Linked DNA regions of Homo sapiens: all the other regions are linked to region 5. The links are contacts of gene promoters, found by promoter capture Hi-C in blood cells and fetal thymus (Javierre and others, 2016). All regions are on one chromosome and are shown on one strand. Each heading gives the region's core, a stretch centred on a gene start or on the middle of the fragment in contact. The rest is flanking DNA. Distances are from core to core; before and after follow the strand shown.

Region 1 (2,700 bases), core at 78-2,577, 340 kb before region 5:
AAAAACAATGCCACCACCCTCAAAAAATAGATATCACCATCAGATGAGGAAATTAAGGCATAGAAAGATGAGAGACATGCCAGGATGAAAACTCAGCTCCTTACACATAAAGACCACTTTCTGGAGGAGCTGTGAGCTGAGGACTGTTAAGACGAAAGGACATTGGAACCAGGAAATCTCCGAGGCCTGAGCTCCTTTCAGGGCCCTGCCAGAAGAGGAGGCCGAGAAAGCCAGACCTCTCCCTCCCCAGGTGCTAAGTCACCACAGAGACCCTCCCCAGGTCACCACAGCCTTAGAACCACCACCACCAGTGGTGACAGAAGCCTCATGGAGGAGCAAAATAGGTGAAGGGAAATGAGCACAGGCTCAGAGGCTTGACCAGCCTCTCCCATCCTGCCCATCGCAAGAAACATGTTCTTCAGAGAGCTCTTAGCTAGAGAAACACTAAAGGCCCTCACAGGTTCATCTTTAGGGCATCTCCCATCCACAGCCCAAGTCGATACAATCCAGTGCCCCAGGATACTGAGAGTGACACGGATAGATGATGCTCAATTTGGGAAGCAGCAAGGGCAAGGAAAGCAAGGAAACTAGCCTGGGCTCTAGAGCTGGATGACTTACAAAATGTTGGTGTCACTATCTAAAAACAAAGGAGTCAAGAGGAACACCATGGGGTGAGAAAGGAGATGATGAGTTAACGCGAAAATGCTGGGCGTCCTGCCCCACAACTTGGCATGGAATTCACCTCAATATAATTTTTGCTGTAAGATGACAGTGCTAATTTGTTCACATTTATTACAGTTGGTTAATCCACCCAAATAATTCATTTATTTGAGGCCAATAAACTGAATGCTAACTGGCCTCAAAGTCATTCATCATCATTAAGTGGTAAGGTTATGTGGTTATTAATAAACCAAGCCTGCAGATAAAAGATTTACGGTCACTTAAGCATTTGTTTATTAATTCAATAAAATTAGGCCAGATGTAGTGGCTGACGCCTGTAATCCCAACACTTTGAGAGCCCGAGGTGGGTAGATCACCTGAGGTCAAGAGTTCGAGACCAGCCTGACCAATATGGTGAAACCCCGTCTCTACTGAAAATACAAAAATTAGCCAGGCGTGGTGGCAGGTGCCTGTAATCCCAGCTTACTCAAGAGGCTGATGCAGGAGAATCACTGCAACCTGGGAGATAGAGATTGCAGTGAGCCAGGCTGTATTAGGTACTTTAAAAGATTAATAAAAACAAGCCCGGTCCCCAAGTAGCTCAAACCTTACTAGAGAAGAGATGTGATGTCAAGGGCCATGAGAGGGGACAAACTGCCATGGCAGTTTAGAAAGCGGATGAGCAGGTCCTTCTGTACAATCATAGAGGGCTACATGAAGGAAGGCGCCATTTGGGCTGGACCTGGGAAAATGGGTAGGTGTGGAACAAACTTTTATCATGGGGCATGCATTCCAGGCAGAACGTGTGCAAAGGAGGAGGTAGGAAAAATGAAGGGTATTTTTTAGAAGCAGTAAGGATTCCTGGAAGACAGTGGCAGCATTTCTGGGTAGGGGGTTCACAGGTGTTGTTGAGGCCCTGCTGCATGCCAGGCACTCTGTACCATAGGCAGGCTCCATGCTGATCATGGAGATAAACACATACACAAAAGACACAGGAGCCCTGGCCTCATGGAGCTCATAGTCCCTCCAAGGATACAGTCGAAAAAGAAGACTGGAGAGCCCCCAGTGCTGACCATTTAAGGAGCCTGGGGACTTGGGGGTTAGCAATGGAGAGTTAATGACAGTTTTTAATGCTGCAAGGTTATGATCAGCGCCTTTTAGAAGATTTATCTGGCCCGATAGTAGAAGAAAAACTTAAGAAGAAAGACGGGAAATATTGAAATTTCAGTTAAGAAACTACTGTAGTAACCCAGATGAGAGATAATTACCAAAATCAGAGCAGTAGGTAGGAAGAAAAATAGGGTATGAATGCAAGAGATACTAACCAAGCAGACTACACTCAATCTGGGAACTAGCAAGGGCAAGAAAAGCATCGAAATGGATCTGAGGGCGGGCACAGTGGCTGACGCCTATAATCGCAGCTCTTTGGGAGGCCAAGGTGGGAAGATCGCTTGAGCTCAACAGTTTGAGACTAGCCTGGGTAACATAGTGACACCCCATCTCTACAAAAAATTTAAAAATAGCTGGGCATGGTGGCACACACCTGCAGTCCCAGCTACTCGGGAGGCTGAGGTGGGAGGATCACGTGAGCCCTGGAAGTTGAGGATTCAGTGAGCCGAGATTGCGCCACTGCACTGCAGCCTGGATGACAGAGCCAGACCTCGTCTCAAAGAAAGAAAAAAAAGGAGAAACTGACCTGGGCTCTAGTGCCTAGGTGATTTACAGAATGTTGGCATCATTATCCAAAAACCAGGGTGTCAAGAGGAGCACAGCGGGACAAGGAGGAGGGTGATGAGTTCATGTGGGGTATGCTCAGTGTCTTCCCACAATGAGAAAGTGGGTGGTCCAGCCAGAGAGAGGTGAGAATTGCCAAGAAACCATGAAAGCAGTGACAGAGGAAGGGAAGGGAAATGAAAAAAAAATGGAAAGGAGGACTGGATTGAGAGTGGTTGTATCTACACATTGTATAGATCCTCCTGGCAGAAGACTCTAGCACCCATGGTTCTCTCTCCGTGTCTCCAAAGCTCTTTGGAAAGACAC
Region 2 (2,700 bases), core at 59-2,558, 390 kb before region 5:
AGTATCACACAAGCGGGACAAGAGGGTTTCAGAGAAGGCCTCCCCATCCCAGGTAGGCTCACTTAGTTGTCAAGCAGTTCTACAAAAATGAGAAAACTAGAGTGTTATTAAGCATTTCATAAAGGTGAGAATTATGTTAATGTTCATAATCAATTAGCCAACTTTGGTTTGGTTGGCTCAGAATAAGAAATAGGTGGACATCTTCATTAAGTGGGAAGATAAACTACTTTAGAAAGATGTCAAAGGGGGAAAAAACACTTTGTAATGGGAAAGTTAAAAGCAAATATTTATAAGACTTCTTTATGAATTAAATGTCCACATATTTAATGAACAGCTGTAGGCAAACTTGATTTTTTTTTTTTTTTTTTTTGGTTCCTCATGAAAGAACAGAATCCCAAGTGTGAATTGGGAGAGAGCTTTCAAAACTTCTGAGTCAGTAACTTTGGGGACAAATCTGGCATTTTCTTTAGTAAATAAATATAAGGGGCAGGAAGTAAAATATCCATCAAGAACATCATCTGCTTTTTTACCAATTAAATCTGTGTATTTGGTTGATGTTTGTCCTTTATTTCACCTCCAGACAGTGCACGTGAATTTGTGTCTCTCTTTTGGATTCTACTTGCCCTTAACAGCAAGAACTGCTTAATTGGCCAGGCGTGGTGGTTCACACCTGTAATCCCAGCACTTTGGGAGGCCAAGGCAGGTGGATCACTCGAGGTCAGGAGTTCGAGACCAGCCTGGCCAACATAGTGAAACTCCATCTCCAATGAAAATGCAAAATTAGCTGGGCATTGTGGCATGTGCCTATAATCTCAGCTACACAGGAGGCTGAGGCAGGAGAATCACTTGAATTTGGAGGCAGAGGTTGCAGTGAGCTGATCTTGCACCACTACATTGCAGCCTGGGTGACAGAGCAAGACTCTATCTCAAAAAAAGAACTGCTGAATCAATGGAATCAACTTGGTAAGAAGTAAAGGTGCTCACTAGGCTTATTAAATAAGCAAAGGTTGTAACATAGAATAGAAATATTAGAGGTTGTCCAGAAACCTAAATTACCTCTCATTGTAAGTTGTGCTTAAATTTATGTAGGAGATAGGCTTCCAAAAATTATATGCATAGTACACATTTTACTTATCTTTAACTGCCTCCCAAACAATATTGGCTCTTTAGTGGAACCCTAGAGTACATCTGAAGAGCAGAGTTCTATGTTGATGAGAATTTTAAGTCCTTAATTTTTCTGTTTGCTAAATCTCTGCTCTGTTCAAGTTGTCTGAAAGCAAAGGCATATCCATGACATAATAATCTGATACGAATTATTTCCTGTTCCAAGGCCAAGTCCACAGGACACCAAGACAATCAGCCAGTCCAAAGAAAATCAGTCAAGCCTGCCTTTCATTAGCATGTAGATTGTTCCCTAATACAAACAACAACAATAAAAAGCAACTGTCCAATTTGTTCACTTTCTAACAAATGGAGTTCAGTTTATTATACACAGTTCTATCACTTTTAAGGAAGAAATTCAATCAAATCAGTTTGGGGCATTGTACAAATTATTTAATGAATTGGCTGCAAGTTTTATTTCCCATTGGTGTTGGCAATGTACAACCCCAGGATACTGAGTATCTTTTTTTTTTTTTTTTTTTTTTTTGAGGCGGAGTCTCGCTCTGTACCCCAGGCTGGAGTGCAGTGGCACGATCTCGGCTCACTGTAAGCTCCGCCTCCCGGGTTCATGCCATTCTCCTGCCTCAGCCTCCCGAGTAGCTGGGACTACAGGGGCCTGCCACCACAACCCCAGCTAATTTTTTTGTATTTTTAGTAGAGACGGGGTTTCACCATGTTAGCCAGGATGGTCTCGATCTCCTGACCTCGTGATCTGCCCGCCTTGGCCTCCCAAAGTGCTGGGATTACAGGCGCCCGCCACCGCACCCGGCCTGATACTGAGTATCTTAAGGAAATGAATGCCTGAAGAACCAAGCAAATCATCTCAGACCAGAGGTTGGCAATGTTTTTCTATTATAAGCCAGAGAGAAAATATTTTAGGCTTTGTATGCTGCACAGTCTCTGTCACAACTACTCAACTCTGCAAAAGCAGCCCTAGACAATATTCAAATGATAGACAGAGCTGTGTTCCAATAAAACTTTATTTACAAATGGAGTGGCAGGCCTGATTTGGCACAGAGGCCATAGTTTGCAGACCACTATTTTAGACCCTTGGAAAATTTTGCAATATCCTATCACCCAAGAATATTTAGACTGTGGCTTTTTAACTATTCTAATCAAAGTGTGGAAAAGAATATATGAATTTAACATAACACTGATCATTCAAGATGGGCCCACAGGTGGTTTCCAGGACGGAAGGTACTAACTCATCCCTACCACTACTTATCAGGAAACTTGCTATCATTTTACCTACATTCTCTACTTTAATTCTCACAAAAACCTTGGGAGGCAGACATTAGAATCCCCACTTCCCAGATAAGGAAATGAATGGAAATTTCCTTCTCACAAAGAAAGAACTAAGTTGCACAGGCAACTTTCAGACCTGTCTCCCTCCAAGGTTCCTGCTATTTCCACTACACTGTTACTAGCTGGGGAGGGATGGTAATTCTTCACATGTGCACCTGACCAGCAGGTCCAAGTCCAGAACCCAGGGAGAGAATCTACAGATGGAGTGACTTCTTCATCCAATTGGCCCATCAA
Region 3 (2,700 bases), core at 201-2,700, 260 kb after region 5:
CTTCTGATTATCAAAGTGATAACCAGTTTTAACTGCCGGTATGTACCAGATTTGTGAACTAATTTAAAAAACCACAAACTATGAATAAAATGGGGTTTGCAAACTAAATATCATTAATGATTTTCACTTGCGTTTACTGATGAGATTAATCAATAAAGCCATTTACATTTAGTGAAAGCAAATTTCCTCAAGTGATCTCCCTGGTAGCATGTTTACTCACTATGTGGAGTGGAGATAAGAATTACTTTATTGCTACAGATATTTTACAATTAGTATTTCTATGTAAGCACATAGGCTATTATCAAGGACAATTTATTTAGCACTTATTTTGAAATTATATGTAAACATGCAAACAAATAAGAACCCAAGAGTATAAACTCTATGACAAAAGTCAGTATGCAAGCATTAAGAACTCTTTCAGAAATGTGTATTTAAAATGACCAGAATTCCCAGATCATTTGAAAGCTGCCTCTTAAATGCCTCTTATCAATTCATCTTAAATGTTTGCTATATTAAATTCTTTATCCCTGAGTGCCTTCATTTGACTTCCAATTACGTATTTTCAACTATTAATTGGCTATCCCATTATGTTAAAATTAAATATGTACATAACTCAAAATCTTTCACTACCAACTAATTTCTGTTTCTCTCAATATCAGTGATATCACCATTCTCTTAAGTATCTCTATTTCAAACCTTTGAGTCTTGAGTCTCCTTTTCCATAATTTCCTTTATCCAGTCTGTTTAGTGGAATTCAAGCTTGTTCTCTCAGGACTGATTTGAGAAACCTAAGCATTCCTAGCCCACCTCTGGGGTAAGCTCGCCATCTCTGGACTGTTTGAGCTATGCATTCCTATAATTTAACTACACTTAAGTCAAAAGTATATTCAAGACACAAACTCGCTATTCTTTGAAAAATGCAAAACAGGGTTTAAGCAAGCATACCTAAGTGCACAACAGATCCGGAAGATCACCTCATACTTTATACCAAAGTCTAATTTAGATCCAGTTATTAAGTTCAAATGCAGCAAAAGCAGCAAGATATTTTAGCCAACTCAAAAACATTTTTATAATAATTTATAAGTCCTGGGCGGGCATGGTGGCTCGCGCCTGTAATCTCAGCACTTTGGGAGGCCGAGGCAGGTGGATCACCTGAAGTCAGGAGTTTGAGACCAGCATGACTAACATGGTGAAACCCCGTATCTACTAAAAACACAAAATTAGCTGGGCATGGTGGCACGTGCCTGTAATCCCAGCACTCGGGAGGCTGAGGCAGGAGAATCGCTTGAACCTGGGAGGTGGAGGTTGCAGTGAGCCGGGATCATGCCACTGCACTCCAGCCTGGGCGACAGAGTGAGACTCCATCCCCAAATAATAGTAATAAGTCCTTTCAGTAATTACAATTATTCTTTCATTGCTTCTTCCAATTGTTAATTCATAAGTTGTACATAATTGTAACAATATAATTGCTCTCTTCATATTATTTAAAATATGCCTTTTCATTCAATCTAGAAATTTTATATTTCTCAATTATATTGCTTACATATTATTCTGATAGACAGCTGTACCTGCTTAAACATTCCAATTTAAGTAGGCATGAAATAGTACATCCAATCTGTTTTAGTTTTCCAAATTAATTGTTAGCAAGATTAGCCCCCATTTTTTTTTTTTTTTAACAGATGGGAGTCTCATTATGTTGCCCAGGCTGGTCTCAAACTCTTGGGCTCAAGTGATTCCCCCACCTCAGCCTCTCAAGCATTGCTGGGACTACAGGCATGCACCACCGCTCCTGGCTAAAATCTTGTTTTAAGTTTCTTCCCTCCAACTTCCTCTTGCGTTCTTGGTGTTCTCTAACCATCTCTACAGGGGGGAGGTGGTGATACACAGCACATGCTTCCTCCTTATCTAATGTCACCTTCAGTTCAGAAACGATATGTTTTCTAATTAAAAGACAACTTTACAAGAGAAGCGTGCCTAACAAAATGTGTAGATGACTTTTTATTCATTGATTCAAAAGACATACATTCAGCCCCCGCTATTTACTGGATATTAAGCTCTGGGGCTACATGGAAGGACCACGCAGACACTCTTCATGCCTTCAACGGCTTACAGTTAAGTTTTTCAAACATTTGAAACATAACGAAGCTTTTGGTTACTTAAAAGAATTCTATGGTATTAGGGAGCAACACCTGTTTTGTAAACCTATATCTTCATACAGGGAATATGCTTAATCTTGCTACAGTATACATGAATGCGGGAATGTATCTTCCTCTGGGCTGCCTTTCGTTACCACTTGGCTGGGTGGAACACCTGTTCACTCCACTTTCCACTTGGGCTACAAACCTGAAACGAAATCTTTGCAACCAGTACAGCCTGCGCGGGGCGCGGCCCAGTCCATCCCCCTTCGGATGCGCAGAAGCAGAGGTCACCACGCCGGACCCCTCGATTCCCTCGCGGGCGATTCCTGGCTCCTTCACCACCCCAGCACTCCAAGACCCCCGCCCTTTGGCCTGAGGCTCCCACTGCCCTAGCCAGTTCCCGGGCTCACTTCCAGCTTTTCCAGAAAGCTTGGCCACGCCCCTCGGCCCAGACTCTCAGGCCACTCGGCCGCAATTAACCCGCGTCTCTGCGCCTTTTTAGGCCCCTCCCCCTCGGTCGTGCCCTTGTCATCTCTTAGGCCCCGTCTCACCCTTTCGGATG
Region 4 (2,700 bases), core at 167-2,666, 260 kb before region 5:
CCATACAATGTTGATTTGAACTCAAAAGAAATTAATTTTAGTGCAGCCTAATCAAAATAAAATTCCTTTACCAATAATACTAAGCAAGTGTTTTATCCGCCACAAGCTTCTTCCTAATTTGTATTTTCTATCTGCATTACTGAGCATTCACAATGTAAGTGGCATTGTTTGAAAGACCACAAAAAATACATACATTTATATAACGTTTCAAGTTAGAAACCAAGATAACTCCTATTCAACATAGTACTGGAAGTCCTGGCCAGAGCTATCAGGCAAGAGAAAAAAATAAAAGGCATCTGAATTGGAAAAGTAGAAGTCAAATTATCTCTGTTCACTGACAATATGATTGTATACCTAGAAAACCCTAAAGACTCCTCTAGAAGACTCCTTGGCCTGATTAACAACTTCAGTAAAGTCTCAGGATACAAAATCAATGTACAAAAATCAGTAGCATTTCTATAAACAGTAACATTGAAGCTGAGAACCAAATTAAGAATCCAATCCCACTTAGGATAGCCACGAAAAAGACCAAAATACTTCAGAACACATTTAACCAAGGAGGTGAAAGATCTCTACAAGGAGAACTACAAAACACTGATGAAAGAAATTGTAGATGACACAAATAAATGGAAAAACATTCCATGCTATGAATTGGAAGAATTAATATGGTTAAAATAACCATATTACCCAAGCAATCTACAGATTCAATGCAATCCCTATCCAATTACCAGCCTTGTTTTTCACAGAATTAGGAAAAACAGTCCTAAAGTTCATAGGGAACCAAAAAAAGCCCAAATAGCCAAGGAACTCCCAAGCAAAAAGAACAGAGTCAGAGGCATTATATTGCCTGACTTCAAATTATACTACAAGGCTATAGTAACTAAAATCGCATGGTACTAGTACAAAAATAAACCCAGAGATTAATGGTACAGTATGGGGTTCTCTAACCTAGAAATAAAGCTACATATATACAACCAATTGATCTTCGATTAAAGTCAACAGAAATAAACAATGGGAAATAGACACCCTATTCAATAAATGATGCTGGAAAAACTGGCTAGCCATATGCAGAAGACTGAAACTAATTCCCCATCTCTTAACATATACAAAATTAACTATAGATGGATTAAAGACCTAAATGTAAAACTATCAAAACTGAAACTATAAAAATCCTAAAAGAAAACCTAGGAAAACTCCTTATGGACATCGGCTTAGGCAAATAATTTATGATGAAGATTCCAAACACAAACGCAATAAAAAACGAAGATAGAGAAATAGGACATAAACTAAAAGTTTCTGCACAGCAAAACAAATAATCAATAGGATAAAAAGACAACTCACAGAATGGGAGAAAATATTTACAAATTATACCTCCAACAAAGAATTAGTATTCAGAATCTACAAGAAATTCAAACAACTCAACAAACATAAAACAAACCAATTGAAAATGGGGCAAAGAACATGAACAGACATTTCTCAGAAGAAGAAATACAAACAGCTAACAAACATATGAAAAAATGCTCAACATCACTAATCATCAGAGAAATGCAAATTAAAACCACATTGAGATACCATCTCACTCCAGTCAGAATGGCTTTTATTAAAAAGTCAAAAAACAACAGATATTGGTGTGTATGCAGAGAAAAGGGAATACTCACACACTGTTGGTGGGAATGTAAATTAATTCAACCTCTATGGAAAACGGTATAGCGATATCTCAAATAACTAAAAATAGAACTATCATTCGACCCAGCAATCCCACTACTGGGTATCTACCCAAAGGAAAAGAAATCATTATATCAAAAAGATACTTGTACTTGTGTGTTTATTGCAGCACCATTTACAATTAGAGCAAAGTCATGGAATCCACCTACATGTCTGCCAACTGTTGACTGGATAAAGAAAATATGGTGTATATATACACAATGGAATACTACACAATCATAAAAGAAGAATGAAATCATGTCCTTTGCAGCAACATGGATGGAGCTGGAGGCCATTACCCAAAGTCAACTAACCCAGAAGCAGAAAATAAAATATTACGTATTCTCACTTGTAAGTGGGAGCTAAAGAAATGGTACATGTGGAAATGAAAATAGAGAAAATAGACTCTGGGGACTCCAAAGGTGGGTGGGGAGGGTTGAAAAATTACCTACTGGATACAATGCCTAATACTGGGGTGATAAGTACAGCAGAAGCCCAACACGCAACATTATGCATGTAATACCCATGTAACAAACAAGAATATGTACCCCTTAAAAAAAGAAACCAAGATAACTCACTAAAATTAATTCAGAGTGTAAGAAAATGTTCCTATGTGCAACACTCTATACTAATATAAATATGTGTATATGTATCAGCACTCTATACCATTATAATAAAATGCTGAATTCAAAATACAATTAGAATATAGAATAATACTCTCTTATTAATGGAACATACTAATTTTAGAGTGACTATATTAAGTGTCAAAGTGATTAGAGAAGAGAAAGGATCAGGAAGAACTAAAGGTACTAGGGAAGATTTTACCCAGGAAGTAGAATTTGAGCTTGAGATTTCAAGAAACTATAGAGGAGCTAAGAGCAGAAAGGACAATGTGAACTTTACTAAATGTAAGCATGATGAAATCCTTGAGATATATTCTATGAATATAGAGGAAATAAAGATAACAAATGAGGATTATGTAAATTTTTTAACTAA
Region 5 (2,700 bases), core at 70-2,569:
CAACGAATTAGAAATTCATACTCCCGTATCAATTACTTTCAATAGCTAAATGGTTGATGTTTGAATATATCTAGCCACAACTAACAATATACTCTGTTCTGTTTCTTTTGCACAAAAAACACCTGGCTCATTTTAATGTGGGTAATAAACTCTAAAAAAGTCAGTGTTGAAAGCTACTGGAAAATGGAATGTCCCTACCTTTCTTTAAACAAAGATTCACATACCTGTAAGAAATGGCAACAATTCACTTCGGGTCCTTTCTACTCCAAGTGCTAGGGCAATTGTTGATAACTTCTTAATACTGTTGAGTCGGAGCTTCAGAAAAGAAAGTAGAAAGAAGAACAATGTAAAGAAACGGCTGAATTTAGATCAAAAGACAAAAGGTGCTAACAGGTGAAATTATGACACAGGGGTAAGAATGAAGATAACCTTTCATTTAGATTTTACTGTTAAGGAAGCTCATAAGGACTTCCAAAAAGAAGTGTAACTCGGCCTCACTAGCCGGCGGAGGATTTCCCAGGAGAAACACTCAGAAGGGACCGGAAGAGAAATGAAGGAAAGACAATACAACACCTAGGAAGTAAGATAATTTTAAAAAGAGAGCACTTTGGCAGTGGTGAAGCAGGTGAAACGGTTGAATACAACACCTGTGGTTTCAAAGAAAAGTTCCCACAGAGCGGATACACTACTCGTCCAGATTAATCGGCCATCCCACCCCCGCTTTCTACCCAACAAGCCGAGCCAGTTCCAAGCCGAGATGAAGGGATCCAGGGGCACTTCAAAGGGCTTCTGGGCATCCTGCGCCCCTCAGCCGCTCCAGCCCCGTCTCGGCCTGGCACCGCGCTTCTCCTGCTCCCTCGCCCAAGAGACGCGGCCACCTCACGGCCCGGATGGGGCGCCCAGGCGGGAAGCGGGTTCCCCGACAACCGCCCGGGAAGGGCAAGGCTCCGGGCGGACGCCTCAGGGGGTCCGAAGCAAGGTTACTAGAGAGGTACCCGGGAGGGTCGGGGCGTGTCACCACAGCCCCTCGCGGAGCATTCCCCGCCTCCCCTTCAAGTTTCTGCTACGAGTCCGACTCATTCAGTACCTCGGCCACCCCCACCGCGACGCAGGCCTTCCCCCTTCTCTACCACGCGACCAGCCGGTCTCGCCTCGGGTCCCCGGCCTCAGTCCAGTACCTGCACGTCTTCATTGCGGAGCTCGTCGATTAAAACCGCGATCGGGTATAGCGAATCATCTCCATCTCCACCCGCTGCTCCTGGGCCGGTCCCGAGCTCTGATGCGCCCGCCATGTTCTTTCTCCTCCTGCTGCTGGTCACCGCCTCCCGCCCCGCGCCCAGGCCCCGCCCCGCGCCCAGGCAGTAGGGACGAAGGCCGCCACGCTGGTTTAGCCGAAGTTGGGGAGCCGCGTTTCTGTCCCGATGATTAAGGCTCCCTTCTGACCCCCACTGCAGGAGTTGTAGGTCTGAACTCAAGAAGACGGGTGGGCTAAGAAAGCGAATGGAACCCCTGCGTCCTTTCCCCAGCCGAAAGAAACAGGGACAGGGATTCATCCAGCTCGTTGTAGTCTGAAGGAGCCAGGAACCTACCTGAATGATCTGCGCTGTGCCCTCTTAAGACTCAGGCGGACCAAAGAGAGTGCCCGAGGCCAGGAGGAAAAAGGCTTTAGCACCTCCCCTGACTTCTTCCTGGCCCTGAGCCACTGGATCTCCAGCCCTAATTTCTCCGCTCAGACTCAAACTTCCACAGAACCCCTCCACCTCTTCCCGCGGCTCTTTCTCCAGAATGGTATCTGGCTCCTGCTCCGTAAGACAAATAACGCGGGCGGTGAGAGAAAATGAACAGTGCTGTCCAAACTCCCCAGTCAATATTTTTTCCACGCAAGCTGTTAAAAACATGCTGCTCTCTTGTTTTTGTGTTTCTTTTCAGTTTGGTACTGGAATGGTGCCTTCTGTTGTATTTTCTTCCTCCCATTTTTTAGCTCTTTAGCATGCTAGAAGTACAACAATGAAGCAAAACTAGGACAAGCTTTAATCCTTCCAAATTGGGTGGGGTGGCTACTTTCTTGAGCAAGAAAACCCAAACTGGCCTCCCTAGACCTCCAAGAGTCCTCAGAGGCAGCAAGGGGAAGAGGTGGAGGTCTGGGAGCTCGTTCTTACAAACCTGAATGGAAAGTTTTCACTTACCCCTGTCAGGGTAGCACAGAATAATTAGAATGTTTTGTTTGTTTTAGACTGGAATTTAAGCAGCTTGGAGTGATAACTACATATGGTGATCACAAGCTCCGAAATGGTAATTCTATGTGCCTGATTAATAAAACTATAAATGCAGTGTAGGAGACAAACTTTTTTAAAACATGGGATTCTGAGGCCGAGGCGGGCGGATCACTTGAGGCCAGGAGTTCGAGACCAGCCTGGCCAACTTGGTGAAACCCTGTCTCCACTAAAAAATACAAAAATTAGCTGGGCTGGTGACGGGAGCCTGTAGTCCCAGCTACTCGGGAGGCTGACATGAGAATCGCTTGAGCCCGGGAGGCAGAGGTTGCAGTGAGCCAGGATCGCACCACTGTACTCCAATCTGGGCGGCAGAGTGAGACCCCGTCTCTAAAATAAATAAATAAATAAATAGCGTTCTTGGAAGTAAGCACAATAGAGCCTTTGAATGAATGAATGAAATAATGAATAAATAAATAAATAAATA
Region 6 (2,700 bases), core at 172-2,671, 400 kb after region 5:
GTAGATTCTAACTCAGAAATGTCTCCAGAATTTGGTATCTCCTCTCCATCTCCAACAGCACTGTTTTAAATCAAGCCCTCATTACCCCTGGCATCTTCTATTTTAATACTCTTCTACTTGGTTTTCTTGCTTCCAGACTCTCCTCCATTGTTGCCACAGTTATTCTCTCTGCCAGGCCAGAACTTCCCCTTCCCCTGCCTTTTTTTTTTTTTTGCCTGCAAACCCTGCCTCATCTTTCATCCCGTAACTCCCAGCTTTAATAGTTCCTCTAGGAAAACTTCTCTGCTCTTTCATTCCTAGCTAATTATTCTCTCCTCAGAGTCCTACCTCCTTCACACCTGTTCATGCTTCTTAAATAGCTCTTACTACCCTAAATTGAGATTACTTTGATTAAAAATAGGTCTGTTCAGCTTTCATCTGAGTTTTAAGACAATGAGTTGTCTTTTTTCCCCTGAATTTTCAACACCTGGAAAGAGCTTACCACACAGTAAGAACTCAATAAATGTTGTATGAATAAAAGTTTGCTATGATAAACCTTGTTGCCATGACAACAGCGTAGAAAGGGATGTGTAGAATATATATATTTTTTCTATCTTAAACTTTCCCTCCACCTGAAAGCCAATGAGAAGGAGGAAGAACAGGAGGGAAGCCTGAAAACAGAATTTTAAAAATAGAATAATTTTTCTAATGTCTTCTCCATTTTTCCCTAGTAGTTTCTTTTTTATTTCATGTGTTGATTTTGAATTCTTCATTCTTATTTTCTTACAATTCTTCTTGTTAGTTCTCAATACATCTATGACTGATTACAAGTAGTGTGTTCTCATCCCCATTCCTCCTCTCCTCAATTTTCCTCTTCCTTTCTCATCCGTGTTTCTTTGCTTTAACTCTAATCTATGAAAATTATAGTATCCATTGGATAAAAATGCTTTGACTATTTCATCTAAAATTCTCAGACTACTGACTTTTTTTTTTTTTAAGAGTTATAAACCACCTCAGAAAGATCCTCCCAGGAGTAAGCAGTGACAATTTGTTCTTTAAAACAGACATAAAAATTTAGTTATGCAATACTTTGACAACTAGCCAGAGGCTAGTGAATGGTAGAATTTCATGATGGAAATTAGGACACATGAGTTCCAGTTTTGTCTGGGGCAAGTCACTTAATTTTAAGGGTCTCAGTTCCCTCATTTGGACAAGGAAGTTGGCTAGTCAGTCTTTAAGGTCTGTTCCAGCTCTACCAACCTGCAATTCTAGACTCTAGTTAAAGCTGTAAGGAGAGAACCATTGATATGTGGCAAACGGCCTAGTAACCACTTCTTCATAATTCTAAGACAGTAAATATTTATGGCATATTTATTATACAACCAGCATTGTTAAGCCACTAAGAGTTTAAAAACATACTATTAGGCTGGGCACGGTGGCTTATGCCTGTAATACCAGCACTTTGGGAGGCCGAGGCGGCTGGATCACTTGAGGTCAGGAGTTCGAGACCAGCCTGGCCAACATGGTGAAACCCTGTTTCTACTAAAAATACAAAAATTAGCCAGGCATGGTGGCATGTGCCTTGTAGTCCCAGCTACTTGGGACACTGAGGCAGAATAACTGATTGAACCCATGAGGCAGAGGTTGCAGTGAGCCGAGTTCGTGCCACTGCACTCCAGCCTGGGTGACACAGCAGGGCTCCATCTCAAACAACAACAACAACAACAAACATACTACTAGATTAAAAGTTAAAATGCCTTGAACTTGAAAAGCAACTATGATTATGTTTATCCTTGCTGTGGAATTCCAATCCTGTTGAATAGGTATGGGATGAAATGAGGGAGCATGCTACATAATTAATTACCTGAGATCAGGTAGGTAGTCATCTTGACAGCAACAAGATCAAAACCTAACTTTTCAGTTCTATAAATCATTTTATCCTTGAACATTCTGCCATCTTATTATGAATGCGTGTATGTGAGTGTTGAAGAGGTGAGAGTAGCAGAAAACTTAAAAAATAAGTTTTTAAGTTTTTGTTTTTGAGTCTGTAGACTCAAAGCAAAAAAATCAAAATGGAACTGATGTAGTTTAAATGGCCTAGTTTGAAAAGGAGAATTGAGTTGAATCTCAAAGAATGCTTAAAGATTTGAATAGATAGAGAAGGCAATGGACCAGCATTTATGTGATAATCAAAACAATGTTGTGGTGGGGGTGAACTGAATAGAGCGATGTTTTTTTCTTTTCTTTTCTTTTTTTTTTTTTTTTTGAGACATGGTCTTGCTCTATCACCCAGGCTGGAGTGCAGTGACACAGCAAACATGGCTCACTGTAGCCTTGACCTCCTGGGCTCAAGTGATCCTCTTGCCTTAGCCTTTTGAGTAGTTGGGACTACAGGCACATACTACCACATCTGGCTAATTTTTGTATGTTTTGGAGAGACAGGGTTTTTGCCATGTTGCCCAGGCTGGTCTTGAACTCCTGAGCTGAAGCAATCCACCTGCCTTGGCCTTCCAAAGTGTTGGGATTACAGGAGTGAGCCACTGCACCCAACCTGTGATTTTTGGATTGTAGTGGAACAGTCCTGCTATTTTGCAGTGAACACAAGGTAAAGTCGGATTAGATTATGGAGGGCTTTGGAAATCAGGTAAAAGAGTAAATTTAATCTCACAGGCAATAGGAAAACATTGCAGATAAAAAGTTATTTTGAAGGAAGTTTGTTTG
Region 7 (2,700 bases), core at 125-2,624, 320 kb before region 5:
CAGCCTGGGTGACAGAGCAAGACTCCATCTCAAAAAACAAAAAAAGAAAGAAAAGTGAGTTGAACATAAGAGACCAGAGCATAGCTAACACCCAGACTTTGGTTTCTAATAACATTCTCCAATAAAAAGGAACCAGAACTCCTTGGGGATATGGCCAATTCTAGGACGGGGACAGGAAATATACGAGATGAGATCAGGTGCGGTGGCTCACGTCTGTAATCCCAGCAATTTGGGAGGTCGAGGCAGGTGGATCACTTGAGGTCAGGAGTTTGAGACCAGCCTGGCCAACATGGTGAAACCCCATTTCTATAAAAATACAAAAAATTAGCCAGGCATGGTGGTGCACAGCTGTAGTCCCAGCTACTCAGGAGGTCGAGGCAAGAGAATCACTTGAGCCAGGGAGGTGGAGGTTGCAGTGAGCCAAGATCGAGTCACTGCACTCCAGCCTGCATGACAGAGTAAGATTGTTTCAAAAAAAATGTATACACACACACACACACACACACACACACACACACCAGATGAGCCTGGGGCATCTTATAGTGCCAAAAATATAAGGAAGTACTCGAAAAACAACAACAACAACAACAACAACCCACAATCATGAGGTATGTCCAAAGGACCCCGTAGCCCACTGGCAGAGCTCACAACAACCAGCACTGGATCATTTTGAAAGACAGGGAAAAAAAAAAACTCTCTATCTAAATCTAAAGTATGAAATGAATACCTATAAGTCCATATTGATATAAATAAATGTTCACGTGAATAAATAAAAATGAAGAAGCAACAAATCTCACATGCAGAAGAATCTCAAATAACTTGCATTCGATTAACTTACGTTAATTTCAAATAACTTAATTCCACCCTCGGGGAGGGATAAGGCAACTGCCCACTCCTTAAGTGTGGGCTGTACATAGTGATTTTCTTCCAATGAGCATAGTGTGGAAAGGGAAAAAGAGTAACCTCTACAGTGGAGGAAACCTGGCCAACGCTACCTCAGCCAGGTGATCAAGGTCAACACCAACAGTGATACATCATGTTGATTGCATGTACCCTTCATACAACGTGATGAAAATGGCACCTTGCCTCTGTGGTCTTCCTCTCAAAAACCCACACCTCCAGTCCAAGCGTTAGAAAAACATCAGATAAATCCTAACTGAGGAACATTCTACAAAATATCTGACCAACATTCCTCAAAACTGTCAAGGTCATCAAAAACAAGGAAAATTTGAGAAATTCTCTCAACTGAGAGTAGGCAAAGCAGACATGATGACTGGATGTCATATGTGGTCCTGGAACAGAAAAAGACAATAGGTAAAACTAAGGAAATCAGAACAAAGTATGGGTTTCAGTTAATAATAATGTATTGGTTCATTAATTATAACAAATGTACCATATTAATGTAAGCAGTTAATAAGAGAAGAAGCTGGGTGTGAGGTATATGAGAACACTGTACTATCTTTTGAAATTTTTCTGTAAATCTAAAACTGTTCTTAAAAAATAAAGTTTTTCAAAAAAATATCAGCACATTCTAGGAAAAACTTACATAACTTAAAAACAGAGGGAAAAAAAAGAGAGACAAAAGGGACTTTGGGATCATGGAAATTAAGTCGTCCCCCACCTGTCAGACCAGTGGAAAGTCAGGTAAAATCAGAACTGAAAGTGACATCCCGGGGGCACTGCCAGGGTCCTGAGAGAAGGCAGTTTGGGGATACAGTGAAAGTCAGACAGCTGGGGGCAACAGGACGAGGACCTGGGTGCAACAAGTGTAGGGCAGCAATCAGAAAGCGTGGTCTTTAGGTATGGGCATAGATGAAGCAGGAAGCCTCACTTAGAAGCCTCCAGCTCGAGGACGCTTAGCAACACAGGTGAGTATTTAAAACAGTGCAGAGTGGGGAGTAAGAAACCAGGGTGAGACAGCACAACCACCTCTGCAAGCATTTAAAACGGACATGTGCCTAAACGATGCCTGCTTTGCAGGAACTCACAGACACACATTTGGTTTAACAGAATTATTTTTTATGGGGAGATGGAAATAAGAATAAATGGAGAAAAATAAATGAACAAAATAGGAGAAGTTTCCTGCCCAAACCACACCAGCAATGACAATGTTCCATGAACTGAGTGTAATTAATTCAAACCACTACCCTGAGGGGTGTGTGTGTGTGTGTGTGTGTGTGTGTAGAGACAGTGTGTGTATGTATGTGTGACTGAGAGACAGAGAGAGAGGAGAGGAGAGGGAGGGAAGAGGAGAGAAGGGGAGGGGAAGGCAGGGGAGGGGAGGGGAGAGAAGACATAGGAGAGAAAGGAAAAGAAACAGGAGAGTCCTAAGAGGCAATGTCTCACTTATTTGTGGAATCTAAAGATCAAAACAATTGAATTCATGGACATAGAGAGTAGAAGGATGGTTACCCGATGCTGGGAAGAGTAGTGGGGGGCTGGGAGGGAAGGTGGGGATGGTTAATGGGTACCAAAACAAATAGAAAGAATGAATAAGACCTACTATTTGATAGCACAACAGGGTGACTATAGTCGATAATAACTTCATTGCACATTTTAAACTAACTTAAAGATTGTTATTGAATTGTTGGTAACTCAAAGGATATGTTTTTTGACACATGAGATGTTTTAATACATAATACCCCATAAATATATACACCTACTATGTACCTACAAAAATTTAAAAAATAAAAATTAAAA

Evidence for each region. Contacts are between HindIII fragments. The CHiCAGO score rates a contact against its expected background, and 5 or more counts as called.
Region 1: a contact is called between a fragment that was not itself captured here and the fragment with the promoter of PPP2R1B in region 5, in 1 of 17 cell types (fetal thymus). The highest score is 5.9, in fetal thymus.
Region 2: a fragment that was not itself captured here is called in contact with the fragment with the promoter of PPP2R1B in region 5 in 1 of 17 cell types (activated CD4 T cells); the score reaches 5.4 in activated CD4 T cells.
Region 3: a fragment that was not itself captured here is called in contact with the fragment with the promoter of PPP2R1B in region 5 in 7 of 17 cell types (total CD8 T cells, total CD4 T cells, naive CD4 T cells and 4 more); the score reaches 7.6 in total CD8 T cells.
Region 4: a fragment that was not itself captured here is called in contact with the fragment with the promoter of PPP2R1B in region 5 in 1 of 17 cell types (fetal thymus); the score reaches 6.0 in fetal thymus.
Region 6: a fragment that was not itself captured here is called in contact with the fragment with the promoter of PPP2R1B in region 5 in 1 of 17 cell types (neutrophils); the score reaches 6.4 in neutrophils.
Region 7: a fragment that was not itself captured here is called in contact with the fragment with the promoter of PPP2R1B in region 5 in 5 of 17 cell types (fetal thymus, naive CD8 T cells, activated CD4 T cells and 2 more); the score reaches 8.5 in fetal thymus.

Annotation. Positions count from the first base shown.
Region 1 is chr11:111,423,703-111,426,402 of GRCh38, forward strand. It overlaps a transcript of BTG4 not described here. Among named protein-coding and RNA genes, the nearest start is that of POU2AF1, 46 kb to the left of the region's middle. The HindIII fragment of the contact is 8,409 bases long and covers 1-2,700 here.
Region 2 is chr11:111,373,767-111,376,466 of GRCh38, forward strand. All of the region lies in intron 1 of POU2AF1 (POU class 2 homeobox associating factor 1), which reads right to left. Among named protein-coding and RNA genes, the nearest start is that of POU2AF1, 4.2 kb to the right of the region's middle. The HindIII fragment of the contact is 6,311 bases long and covers 1-2,700 here.
Region 3 is chr11:112,022,477-112,025,176 of GRCh38, forward strand. It overlaps DIXDC1 (DIX domain containing 1), which reads left to right. Exons shown (of 20, transcript NM_001037954.4): 20 at 1-177. Among named protein-coding and RNA genes, the nearest start is that of DLAT, 1.6 kb to the right of the region's middle. RefSeq lists an enhancer at 1,894-2,083. The HindIII fragment of the contact is 1,386 bases long and covers 758-2,143 here.
Region 4 is chr11:111,504,356-111,507,055 of GRCh38, forward strand. All of the region lies in intron 1 of BTG4 (BTG anti-proliferation factor 4), which reads right to left. Among named protein-coding and RNA genes, the nearest start is that of MIR34BHG, 4.9 kb to the right of the region's middle. The HindIII fragment of the contact is 2,624 bases long and covers 105-2,700 here.
Region 5 is chr11:111,765,070-111,767,769 of GRCh38, forward strand. It overlaps PPP2R1B (protein phosphatase 2 scaffold subunit Abeta), which reads right to left and starts at 1,320. Exons shown (of 15, transcript NM_002716.5): 1 at 1,179-1,320; 2 at 225-315. The coding sequence starts at 1,292. RefSeq lists enhancers at 346-1,249, 1,136-1,315, 1,336-1,385. The HindIII fragment of the contact is 3,920 bases long and covers 1-2,026 here.
Region 6 is chr11:112,160,114-112,162,813 of GRCh38, forward strand. The region is part of intron 1 of IL18 (interleukin 18); the gene reads right to left. Among named protein-coding and RNA genes, the nearest start is that of IL18, 2.6 kb to the right of the region's middle. The HindIII fragment of the contact is 3,599 bases long and covers 1-2,700 here.
Region 7 is chr11:111,442,028-111,444,727 of GRCh38, forward strand. It overlaps a transcript of BTG4 not described here. Among named protein-coding and RNA genes, the nearest start is that of POU2AF1, 64 kb to the left of the region's middle. The HindIII fragment of the contact is 5,404 bases long and covers 1-2,700 here.